Regions from separate parts of the Homo sapiens genome. Here region 1 is linked to region 2. The links are contacts of gene promoters, found by promoter capture Hi-C in blood cells and fetal thymus (Javierre and others, 2016). All regions are on one chromosome and are shown on one strand. The core of a region is centred on a gene start or on the middle of the fragment in contact, and the rest is flanking DNA. Distances in the headings are between cores, read along the strand shown. Region 1 holds the start of RHOG (ras homolog family member G). Region 2 holds the start of NAP1L4 (nucleosome assembly protein 1 like 4).

What was found. Contacts are between HindIII fragments. The CHiCAGO score rates a contact against its expected background, and 5 or more counts as called.
Region 1: a contact is called between the fragment with the promoter of RHOG here and a fragment that was not itself captured in region 2, in 2 of 17 cell types (fetal thymus and activated CD4 T cells). The highest score is 8.6, in fetal thymus.

The regions. Positions count from the first base shown.
Region 1 is chr11:3,838,115-3,843,443 of GRCh38, forward strand. RHOG (ras homolog family member G) reads right to left here and starts at 2,845. Exons shown (of 2, transcript NM_001665.4): 1 at 2,780-2,845. It overlaps LOC124902619 (a long non-coding RNA gene), which reads left to right. Exons shown (of 2, transcript XR_007062560.1): 2 at 1-161. RefSeq lists an enhancer at 986-1,185 and silencers at 2,586-2,975, 3,026-3,075, 3,426-3,695, 3,736-3,785. The HindIII fragment of the contact is 3,094 bases long and covers 688-3,781 here.
Region 2 is chr11:2,986,386-2,992,380 of GRCh38, forward strand. It overlaps NAP1L4 (nucleosome assembly protein 1 like 4), which reads right to left and starts at 5,944. Exons shown (of 16, transcript NM_005969.4): 1 at 5,869-5,944. RefSeq lists enhancers at 4,513-5,369, 5,914-5,995. The HindIII fragment of the contact is 489 bases long and covers 3,714-4,202 here.

The DNA of each region.
Region 1 (5,329 bases), core at 1,595-4,094, 850 kb after region 2:
TATAGAAGGAGTCTTCAGTGTGGGCCTGAGCCCCCTTCTTCATGTCACAACCTTGACCATACCTGTTTAGCCAAGACTTCAGCGGCAGCCTCCTAGGTTGTAGCCACCACCTCCCTTTACCCCCCAATATTTTCCCATTAAAATCTCTCCCGCCCTGGTCACATTTTTTCCAATGATGCCTTTTTTGCAATTAGCTCAAACTTCCAATGGGGCCAGATCTCACCTGGGAGAATCCCTGTCTCACCCATCTTGTCTTTACCATCAGAGCCCTGTGGGTTTGCTCAGTTACGCAGAATACTAAAGTAACTACTGGTTTGCCAGCCTAGGAACTGGGACTCCTGGGGTTTTTATTAAGCTGTGATGCTGGGAAAGTGCCTTGTATGCACATCCTTCTCTAACCTGGGCTCTTATGTAGGTCCCTGGGATTTCTTCCCGGACCCAAACTTCTGTACCTCCAAGAAATGGGAAGAGAGACAAGTGGTTGGAAGGGCAGGACTGGAAGAAGAACAATTCATGGGAGAGGGACGACTGTGACATGGGAAGATGACAGAATGGGGAACAGGGAGAGCCCTTAAATTTAGCTGTAGCACTTACTCCCCTCTACTTCTCTTTTTTTCTAGTGGAGAGAAATGAATACAGATGACTAGAGGAGGTAGACAGGAGCAAGATCCTCAGATGCACCCCAAAAGCTTGAGGATGGAGCTCTAGAGTGGAAACAAGAGCCTCCATAGCCAGGATGGACTGAAGTTAAATTTGGGAGGAATTCCTGAGAAGGAATAGGGTCCTAGGTGAGATGGGGAGTATTAAGGATGCCTGAAGGCAGAGGGGTCAGTAGAACTCCAGAGGGCTTCCTGGTCACTAAGGCCCTGATGCAGATCAGGGCATGCGGGTACCCAGCCTAGGCAGGCCCCAGAAGGTAGCAGGAAAGGAGCAGACACTTTTGCCTCCGCCGCTTCTTAAGTCCGAAGTTAGACCAGCTGCAGTCTTTCCTCCAGAATCCTGCATTTGCCTCCTCCCTTTATTTCCATCACACCCAAGCTGGTCCCATTCTTTCCACCAGGTGATGCTGGAACTAGTAGGTAATGGAGTCAGGGACCTTCAGGCTGTCTTCCGGCTTCTAGGCCTGGCCTCTTGGTCAAGCACCACGGGTTGGGGTGATTTTGATTTCCCACGGCCTCTCTTACAAGTCTTATTCCTGTGTCACCCTACCCTGACTGCTACAAACGGCTTCCTCCTGCCTAACCACAACCTCACTCACTGCAGGTTCCCTTCATTCTGCTGGCTTCCCTTGCTCTGGGCCCTCTCAAGGCTGAGGGCAGTTATTTTGTCTGTAAGAGATAAAGATGTAGTCACACAGACACGCGCGCGCGAACACACACACACACACACACACACACACACACACACACAGGCTTTCCATCTCTTTAATCCATCTCTAAGAGATGAAGATGTAGATACACAGACACGCGCGTGCGAACACACACGCAAACACACACACACACACACACACACACAGGCTTTCCAGCTCTTTAATCCGTCTCTATCACTGGGAGGCTGCAGACTGCCTCTCCAAGCTAGGGAGGTTTGAAAAGACTCTAGAACTCACTAAGTCTTCAACAACTGATTCCAAAGCTGGAGATAAGTGGGTGGGAGGGAAGGATACAGAGAGGGTGACAGGCTGAGGGTTCAAAAGGAATGAGGGGTGATGGAAGAAACCAGGAGGTGCATGTGTGTGGGTGCCAGAGCTGGGAAGGGAAGGGATGGGGCAGGTTGCAGAGGACCAAGACGAACATGGGGCAGGGTAGGTGAAGACAGGTCAAGGCCTAGGTATGACCGTATGTTTGGAGGAAAAGAGACTGGAAGGGATGAGAAGAGAGTGATGGCGGATTTGTGGGTAGAAACTAAAGAAGGTGTGGAGGGAGACGACAGGAGCATGTGTATAATTCAGGGACTAAGAATGAAGAGGAACACTAGGAGATGGTTCTCAATTGTCCCCAAAAGACACAACAAAAACTTGTCAGGGACTATCAGTACCTCTGAATGAGAGTCCTTCCACTTCCAGTTACAGGGCAAGACCAAGTTACTCCCAAAAGAGCAAGGCCAGGCTCTGGTCAGCTAGGAACAGCGTCTGCTCACTAAATACCTACTGCTTGGCTCCAGGTAAGGTCGGGACTCAGGAAAACAGACATACAGACAACGACTGGGGTCGGCGGGGCTCCCCCACCCAACCCGGGTCCTCCTGAGTGCAGAGGGCCTTGGGGCTGCAGACCGAGTGTGGGTCTGTATTAGCATCCATCTGACAGGGAGAGAGCTTTCGGAGGCCCCAGACACCGCCCCTCTCACCCCAAGTGTCACAACTGCCAGAGCAGAGGGAGCGCCTTTTCCAGCCCAGAAGCCCTCTCCCCTCACGCACTTCTCAACACCCCCCCCACCAACTTCTGAGGACACCCCACCTGCGTCCGATCTCCCAGCTCTGAGCTCTTCCACTTCAGAGACACTTATCTTGGAGCCCGGGACCCTCCGACCTCAGGGGTCCCTCTCGGCTCCCTAGAGGCGGTACAGCCGCCGGGAAGCCACCCTCGCCGAGCCTCCGCCGGCTCGCAGTGGCCCCGTTCCCGCCCCGCCCGGCCGGCCGCGCCCGCCCTACTTGGACTGAACCGAGAAGCTCCCGCCCGCGGCCTCCGCCAGCAAACTCATGAGCCGGCGCCCGCGCCGAGTCCTGGGCCGGCCGGGCTCTCCTCCCCCGGACCCCTACCCGCCAGCCCCGGCCGGGCCTCACCTGGTGCCCTCCCCGAGGCGGGGGAGCTGGGGGCGGCGGCAGCGGCTCCGGGCTCGAGAAGGAAGTGAGAGCGGGAGGCCGGAGGAAGTGGGGGGGGCGGGCCGGCGAGGCGGGGCGGGCCGGGGCGGGGCCCGACCAGGAAGTCCGAGGGCCGATCTCCCCCTCTCCAGCCCCGGCCCGCCCCCAGCCTCGCCCCCGGCCCAGTCCCGGGCTTGCCACGTTCCCCTCCCAGTCCGCTGCCCCTGCGGTCAGTAAGTCAGGCCTCCCAAGGTCAAGTCTCTCCGCCTCCTCCTGGCCACCCTACCCCTGGAGGCCCTACCCTGGGCGCTAGGCGTTCGTCCTCTTCCCCCCATCCCGCCCCCACCAGCCTCCGCGGGAAGATGCTGAGAAAGGCGCCCCTGGGCCTGGTCCCTTCAGTCAACCCCAGGGATAGAGTGGTGGCCGAGGCTGGGGCAGTCCCCGCCCCTGCCCTGAGCCCCGGGGGAGTGCGAGGTGGTGGTGATTCAGCAGTGGGAAGGCCCCAGACCCCTGGGGAGGGTGGGGAGACTCGGGGGGAAGAGGAGCTGGCGTCAGCACCCAAGGGAAAGACAAGATCAGCAGAGGCGCAGGCGGAGCCGCGGGCCCCAAAAACAGGATGTCGAGTCGTCATTCAGCACCGTGCAGCCCTGCGAGGCCTGGCTCTGGGGAGGGGGCGGGGCGGACGGAGGACTTGGGGCTTCCCTCGCCCCCTCGCCCCCTGTTCTGCTGGGGCGCGCAGCTGCTTGGGGCTGAAGAGCCGCACCCAGGCCTGAGGTCCAGCTTGGGCCCCGGCGACCCGCGGGTGGGCGGGCTCATGGGCGCCCTCTGGTGCTTCGCTCCCTGGCTTTGCGCTCGGAGCTTTGACTTGAGAATCCATATCCTTCGTTCAGCACAAAGTTTCTGAGCGCCTACCACGTGGAGAGAGCTAAGTGCTAGGTGCTGTGAAGAAACACAGCGTTTAAGACAGGATCCCTGTCTTCCAGAAGCTTTTCAAATAAACGGATTGATTCCAGGAATAAATAGCTTAACCTTTCTGAGCCTCAAATCTGTCTTTGGTAAAATAGAATAATTATATTTCACCCCGTAGTTTTGAAGATAACATGAGAATGGGTGTAAAAGACCTGTTGTCAATGCGTATCTCAAACACTAAACAAATATCTTTTAAAAATATCATACCCTAAGAGTCTGGCGCGGTGGCGTCTGCCTGTAATTACAGAGATGGTGAAACCTTGTCTCTATAAACACAAACACACACATATTTTTTGACAGTCTCACGATGTCACCCAGGCTGGGGTGCAGTGGCACGATCTCGGCTCACTGCAATCTCTGCCTCCCAGGTTCATGCAGTTATCCTGCCTCAGTCTCTCGAGTAGCTGGGGTTACAGGTGCATGTCACCACACCCGGCTAATTTTCGTATTTCTAGTAGGGACGGGGTTTCACCCTGTTGGCCACGCTGGTCTCGAACTACTGATCTCAGTTGATCCACCTGCCTTGGCCTCCCAAAGTGCTGAGATTACAGGCGTCAGCCACCACACCCAGCCTACTTATATTTTTAAAAAAATAAATAGGAACCACGTAAGTAATTTAAAACTGTCTATTAATGACATTTCAAAAAAAGTAAAAAGAAACGAAATGAATTTTAACTATATTTGACTTAGCCATAGCCAAAGTATTATCTTTTTTTTTTTTTTTTTTTTTTTTTTGGAGATGGAGTCTCGCTCTGTCACCAGGCTGGACTGCAGTGGCGCGGTCTCTGCTCACTGCAACCTCCGCCTCCTGGGTTCAAATGATTCTCCTGCCTCAGTCTCCCAAGTAGCTGGGATTACAGGCACGTGCCACCATGCCTGGCTTATATTTGTATTTTTAATGGAGATAGGATTTCACCATGTTGGCCAGGCTGGTCTTGAACTCCTCACCTCGTGATCTGCCCGCCTCAACCTCCCAAAGTGCTGGGATTACAGGCATGAGCCACTGCGCCCGGCCTCAAAATATTATCTTTTAGCATGGTAATCAACATAAAAATTACTGGTTATAAAAATTAACTGGATATTTTGCATTCTTTTCTTGTACCAAGTCTTTGAAATGCGGTGTGTATTTTATACTTACAATTTGTCTCAATTTGGCTGGAAACATTTCAAGTGGTCAATAGCATGTGTAGCTGGTGGCTACTGTATCATCCTCAAAAACAGAGGCTTTATCAGATTCAGGCTGGTGAATGACTGTGTGGATGAAGTCTTTCTCAAAGATCCTTCTCTAGAAGCCTCCCCTGACCTGCCAGGCAGTGTTTGGGTCTCTTGTCTCCTCTTCGGTCTGGTCCCTGTAGCCCTTCAGACAAACTCCTCTTTGTGGAGGACATGAGAGCAGGAGGCACAAGGGGAAATTCTCATTCCCATCCATACACCATTGGGACCACTTGACATTGGGGTGCTTGGTATTTCATGAATAAAGAAAGGATTGTGAGCCCCAGAAATGACAGGGTTCAGAGGAACACCATACGCTAAAGCAGCTTCTATGACGCCATTAAAGATTAT
Region 2 (5,995 bases), core at 2,708-5,207:
AAGAAAAAGAAAGGAAAAAAAAATTGGGCCACGTTTGAGAGACAAAGCTAGAGAGTGTAGTCGTACTCCCCAAAACTTTTATATATTTACTCTGTCTTAATAAACTCAAAGGTCCTCAATGTCTTTATGGGAGATAACTGAAGGATTAAAATTAATTCAAATGTAATTAATGTTTTCACAAGACTCCTTATAATTTCCTTACAAATCCTATATATCCTACAAAATTAGGGATGGTAGTAAATTTTTTTTTTTTTTTTTGAGATAGAGTTTCGCACTTGTTGCCCAGGCTGGCGTGCAGTGGCGCGATCTCGGCTCACTGCAACCTCCACCTCCCAGTTTCTCCTGCCTCAGCCTCCCAAGTAGCTGGAGTTACAGGTGCCCACCACCATGCCCAGCTAATTTTTTTTTTTTTTTGTATTTTTAGTAGAGACAGGGTTTCACCATGTTGGCCAGACTTGGTCTCGAACTCCCAACCTCAGGTGATCCACCTGCCTCAACCTCCCAAAGTGCTGGGATTACAGGTATGAGCCACCGCACTCTAAGATAAATTTCTAAAGCACAATTGCTTGGCCCACATTCAGTCTGAGGAATGGCAATCCAACATTCTCAATCCAAGAGAGTCTGACCAGCCATTGGGCACAAGTTCAAATCCTCCAGGAGTACTGGATGTTTTAGATTAGGACATCAGAAAGGACAAAGAAATGATCTGTTCTCAGAAGGAATCAAGATACCCCTGTAGGACACCCCAACATCCCCACCCACAAAAGCTGGTGATTATACGAAGCCCTGAGACAGTCCAGATTTCATTTCTATTGCCCAGGCCAGTAGACTCCTGATCCAGTCTATCATTACCACTCTCCAGGATCAGAAGTTAATCATGTTGTTAAACTTTCCATGATAATGTTCTGGGTTTTTTGTTGTTGTTGTTGTTTTTTGAGGTGGAGTCTCGCTCTGTCACCCAAGGCGGGAGAGGGTCTCAAACTCCTGACCCTCAGGTGATCTGCCCACCTCAGCTTCCCCCAAAGTGCTGTGATTACAGGCGTGAGCCACCATGCCAGGCCCATGATAATGTTTAAAAGCAATGAATAGGCTGGGCACGGTGGCTCACGCCTGTAATCCCAGCACTTTGAGAGGCCCAGGTGGGCAGACCACCTGAGGTCAGGAGTTCGAGACCAGCCTGACCAATATGGTGAAACCCGTCTCTACTAAAAAGATACAAAAATTACCCAGGCGTGGTGGTGAGCACCTGTAATCCCAGCTACTTGGGAGGCTGAGACAGGAGAATTGCTTGAACCTGGGAGGCAGAGGCTGCAGTGAGCCGAGATCGCGCCACTGCACTCCAGCCTGGGCATCAGAGCGAGACTCCACCTCAAAAAAAAAAAAAAAAAAAAAGCAATGAATAATACATGTTTGCCCACTAAAGAACAAGTTCCACGAGGGCAGGGACCCTGTCTACTTGCTCAATACAGAAGTCCCAAGGCCCAGCAACAGACTCGGGATGAGACTGGTTGCCAAGAAATCTTTGCTTAACTCACTGCTACCAAATGACAACTTGTCTCTGTGTTACCAGTACCCAGCACGCATGGTGCCCGGGACTGCATGCACACATCTCAAGCAGTTTCTGAAGACACAGAGGAGAAACACTGCCTTAGTCATTCATGTTTGGTTACAAGATCTACTGAAATACCTGCCTCCAAACAGCAGCAGACTGTCTCTTCAGAGACTTCTGCGGTGCCAAGCCCTGGGGTTTCAAGAAGAAAGCAAAAAATGATTTCCTTTCCTTAACCAAAACACTACATTTTACTTGGGGCGCAGCAGTCTTTACTGCTGCACTCCCATCTCCTCCACCCTTCTTTTCTGGGCAGTTCATTAGCATACGACTCAATGAGGCTAACTTCTTAATCCAGTACATATTAAAAGATCTTGTCATCTTGTCAATAAGGCACTTCCCTCTCTACCTATTTCATATTGCAACCACCAAAGTCCCTACTCCTCTGCACTGTTTTTCAAAAGCACCTGCCACCATTGAACTTGTTCGTCTGTCTCCCATAGCAGAAACAAGGACAAAGACTTCTGTTTTATTCTGCGGGAGGCCCCAGTACCTAGAACTGTGCCCAGTACATAGAAGATGCTCATGAATAAGTAAACAGATGCAAATCACTGAAAGCTACTTTTCGGTAACTGAGTAAACAAGTACTATTTTAATTATTATACTTAAAACCTTTGCACATAAAAGTGCACAGTCATTCTTTCTACCACAAATTAAACAGAAATTATCTCATCTTGTTTTTGAACAGGCTTTTCCAGATAATGCACAGCGCATTTTTAAAAGTCCCAAGGACATGAAATGAACATACATTTCGTTTTTAACAGTTAACAGGGGATACTTGTAAGAAACTTAAGGTTACACAGGAAGTGGTCAAAATCAAAAAGTAAAGATCACAAAGTGATCTTTCGTTGTTTTCATACTATAAAAACACAATGCCTCTGTTACTAAATGCAAAATGTAAAGCTCTGGCAAACAAAGTAAAGCAACCCTGTTCTCTCTTAAGAGGGCAGGGTGGAAAACCAATGACTGCCAGATGAAAACTAATTTATATCACCACAAACTATTTCTTAAAAATTTCATTAGCAGCCAAATACAAAATTATTTACTATCTACCTACTGATAAGGGTTTTCCATTACTATATGCTCAAAGACAAACCTTACAACTATAGTTTCGGGAGGCATAAATTTGCTTACCTCAGGAGGTCCCACAAAAATTCAGCTGAGGCCAGGTAACAGCAGTTTCCTGCAGAGATCAGCTACTTCCTATCACCATAGTGGTCGAAGAATCAAACGAAGTAATATCAGATTTCTACTCTGGAAGCCTAAAACACTTTTCCCTTTAAGCAAAAAAGCAAGCATTCCTTAGCTAGCAATCTCAGGCCAAACTCCCAACAAGCTCATCTCTGCTGTCTTATTCAAATATAAACCATCATGGTTTCAAGCAGTAACAGCACTCGCCTATTTCACACAGCTGACGCCTCTTAGGCCGTCAGGAATTTAAATCACCTTCTTGCCCACAAAGTATTTTTCTTCCAAAACAAACTGAAAAATATAGGCTCTTTGGCAACATTTTTGGAAGTACAACATAAACTTATCACAATAATTTTTAAACTGCAGACAACTAAAGGGAAGGAAGAAAAGCACTACTATATATACATACATATTTGAGGTCACCTCCTCCTGATGCTAGAGACTATCAACTGCTCAAAAGAAGGAAAACAAAATAAAGATTTCAGTCCCCACACTTAGCTGCGAATAGCTAACAAAGGGAATTAACATGCGGTCAATAACAAGAGGCTACTAAAAACTCTGACAGGTTAGGAAGTTTTCATTTCAGTTTCAAATTCAAATTCATACTGTAAAGTGGTGATGAACACATCCCATCCGCAGGTACTTAACCTCCATACAAATAAGAACTACCTCTCATATGGGCAAAAAGATCAAAATTCTACAGAAGAATCTGATGGCTAAATGGCTAATTTGCAAAACACAATGCCCTGTACATTTTGAGGACATCCTAAAACATGTGTAAACTTTTCAGAATTCAGTTTACCAAAGTTATCAAACTTAAAAATGATTAAAATTTATTTGCTACTGCAAAGAATTCAACCAATTTCTCCAATGACTACTCCATATTCATTTTGAAAAACAGTACCGGATTTAAAGCTTACACAACAAAATTCACAAAAGTGTTATATGTGCCTATATGACATATAGGCACAAATAACTGCAGACATTCTGAAGCTAACACTGCTCAACCAGGAAAAAAAAAAGACTGCAATTGGATATGTAATAACAGCTATTTAAGACGGCAGTAACGTGTTAAAATGGTTCATAAAAATCACATCATAAGGCCCTGAAATTCTAGTAAAAATATCTCTAAGTAAACTTGTGAACTACTACTAAATAACTAATTTTCTCTCTCTCTGTAGTCACTCATTTTATCTTTGGATTACTTTCCCATTCTATCACCACGTTGCTTTCTCTGAACTTCATTTTACATTTGCATATTATTTATTCCATTAGCAATTGCTCATCCCAGTCTGAATCTCAAAATTCTACTATAGGAGGCATTTGGCATTCTGTGGAATAAGAGAATTTTGAGATGGAAATGATCAACCAGCTCAAAACCTCGTAAGCTAGAGTTCAGTTAAGCTTAGCACAATGATGAAAACAATTTCTCATTAAAACTTCTTTCATTCCCTCTACAGAAGCAGTAACCCTGGGTACAGTTAAAACTGCCTGGGTCTTTAAGCTTTGTCACCTCGGACAAGTCATTATACCTAACCTCCCAGGGCCTCAGCTTCCAGAGTAGTTAAATGGAAAAACAATAGCATCTATCTCAGGTTATTAGATTATGAAATGAGTTAACACACGCAAACAGGCTGAAAGAGTCCCTGGTGCGCAGTGCAGGTATTAGTCATTTAGAGGTATAGTTACTATTACAGGAAGGTAGTAACTTAGAAAGACTTACCTTTAAGGTCCAACAACCTAATCTACATATTTGTATATTTCTAAGGTAAGAGAATTTTTAAAAGTCTATTTTCACCCCGTAAACCTAATGCAGGAGGATAAGGCACGGGTTACTACAGGAAAAAGTAATGCAGACTGGGGGATGCGAACCAAAGCACAGACGAATGTGCCCCGACGATTCCTCCGAGAACATAATGAAATGGCGGACCTTCCTGCCAGAGGAGCGCACAGTCACCCAGGCAGGTGATGTGACACACACGTTAGGGTCTAAAGGTCCCAAGGCTGGAGTCCCCTTTACTGGACCCTAAACATGTCTGCCTCCTGCCCCGCAATCAGACTTAGAGAACTGTGGACGGTGGAAAGTCTTATCATGACCAGGCCATCCTTCGCTGGGGTGAACGGAAAGCATTCAGAAGGGGAAAATTGAAAACAACAAAGACTCTGGTCAGGTCAAAAAATACAAATGTGACCTCTTCCACCATCTCTGAACTGAAAGAAAAGCATGGCACTTTCCCATCCATAACATGTACAATTTTTTTTTTTGGAGATTTTGCTTTTCCCTTGTGAAAGACGGTTTTAAATAGTAAACAGACTTGCTGCCCACCTTGGCTGGGAAACCAAGTCCCGTGAGTAACTAGTCTAAGGCCACTCAGGCCAGTCCTCGGGGAGCGCACGCCGCCCAGCTCGCTCCCACCGCACAGCTCCCAACAGCTAAGAAGCAACGCCAAGGACTTTCTTCCCCGTCAGACATGCCCTCGGCCACACCAAACTGACATCAAAACCCCAGTTAGCCCAGCCTGACCCCACAGAGGCTCACGATGACAACCGCCCTACGGAAAAACTCAAATTCCTAAACATCTAATAAAGAAGTCCTGGACGTCTCCACCTTAAAAACGGGAAGCCTGAACGCTCCGGCGCGCCCGGCCGTGTAACCGCCACAGCCCCCGCACGCGGGGCGGGCTGGGCTAGCGGGAGATTTGAGCGGCCGCCGCCTCTCGCCGTCTTCGCCTCCTCCAAGGGGCCGCCGCCCAGGAGGCCGCCCGCGGCGCAGAACAAAGCGCCTTGACCTTCAGTGAGGCGGGCAGCCGGGCGAGGCGCGCCGGGAGTTGGGAGGGGCCTCCCGCCAGCGCCCCAGGCCCGGGCTCCAGGCCCCAAGCCCCAGGCCCCGCCGCGGCCGCCGCTGCCTGCCCCGACCAGAACGCGGCCCCGCCCCTGCCCCACCGCCCCGAGGCTTCCAGAGATGGCCGCCGCCGCGCCCGCGCCGGACCCGCGGCCCCACCCGCCCGTCCGGGCCCGGCCGCCCTCCCCAGCGCGCCGTTACCGGCCCAGCACCCGTGTCTCCGCACCTCACGCCTCCTGCGGCAGTGGCGGCGACCCTAGCTTCGCTCGCTTTGGGGCTGCGCCGCCGTGGCCTCCAACAACGCCGGCTCCCATTGGCCGAGGCTCCTAGCTCCTCTCTCCGCGAGCAAGACA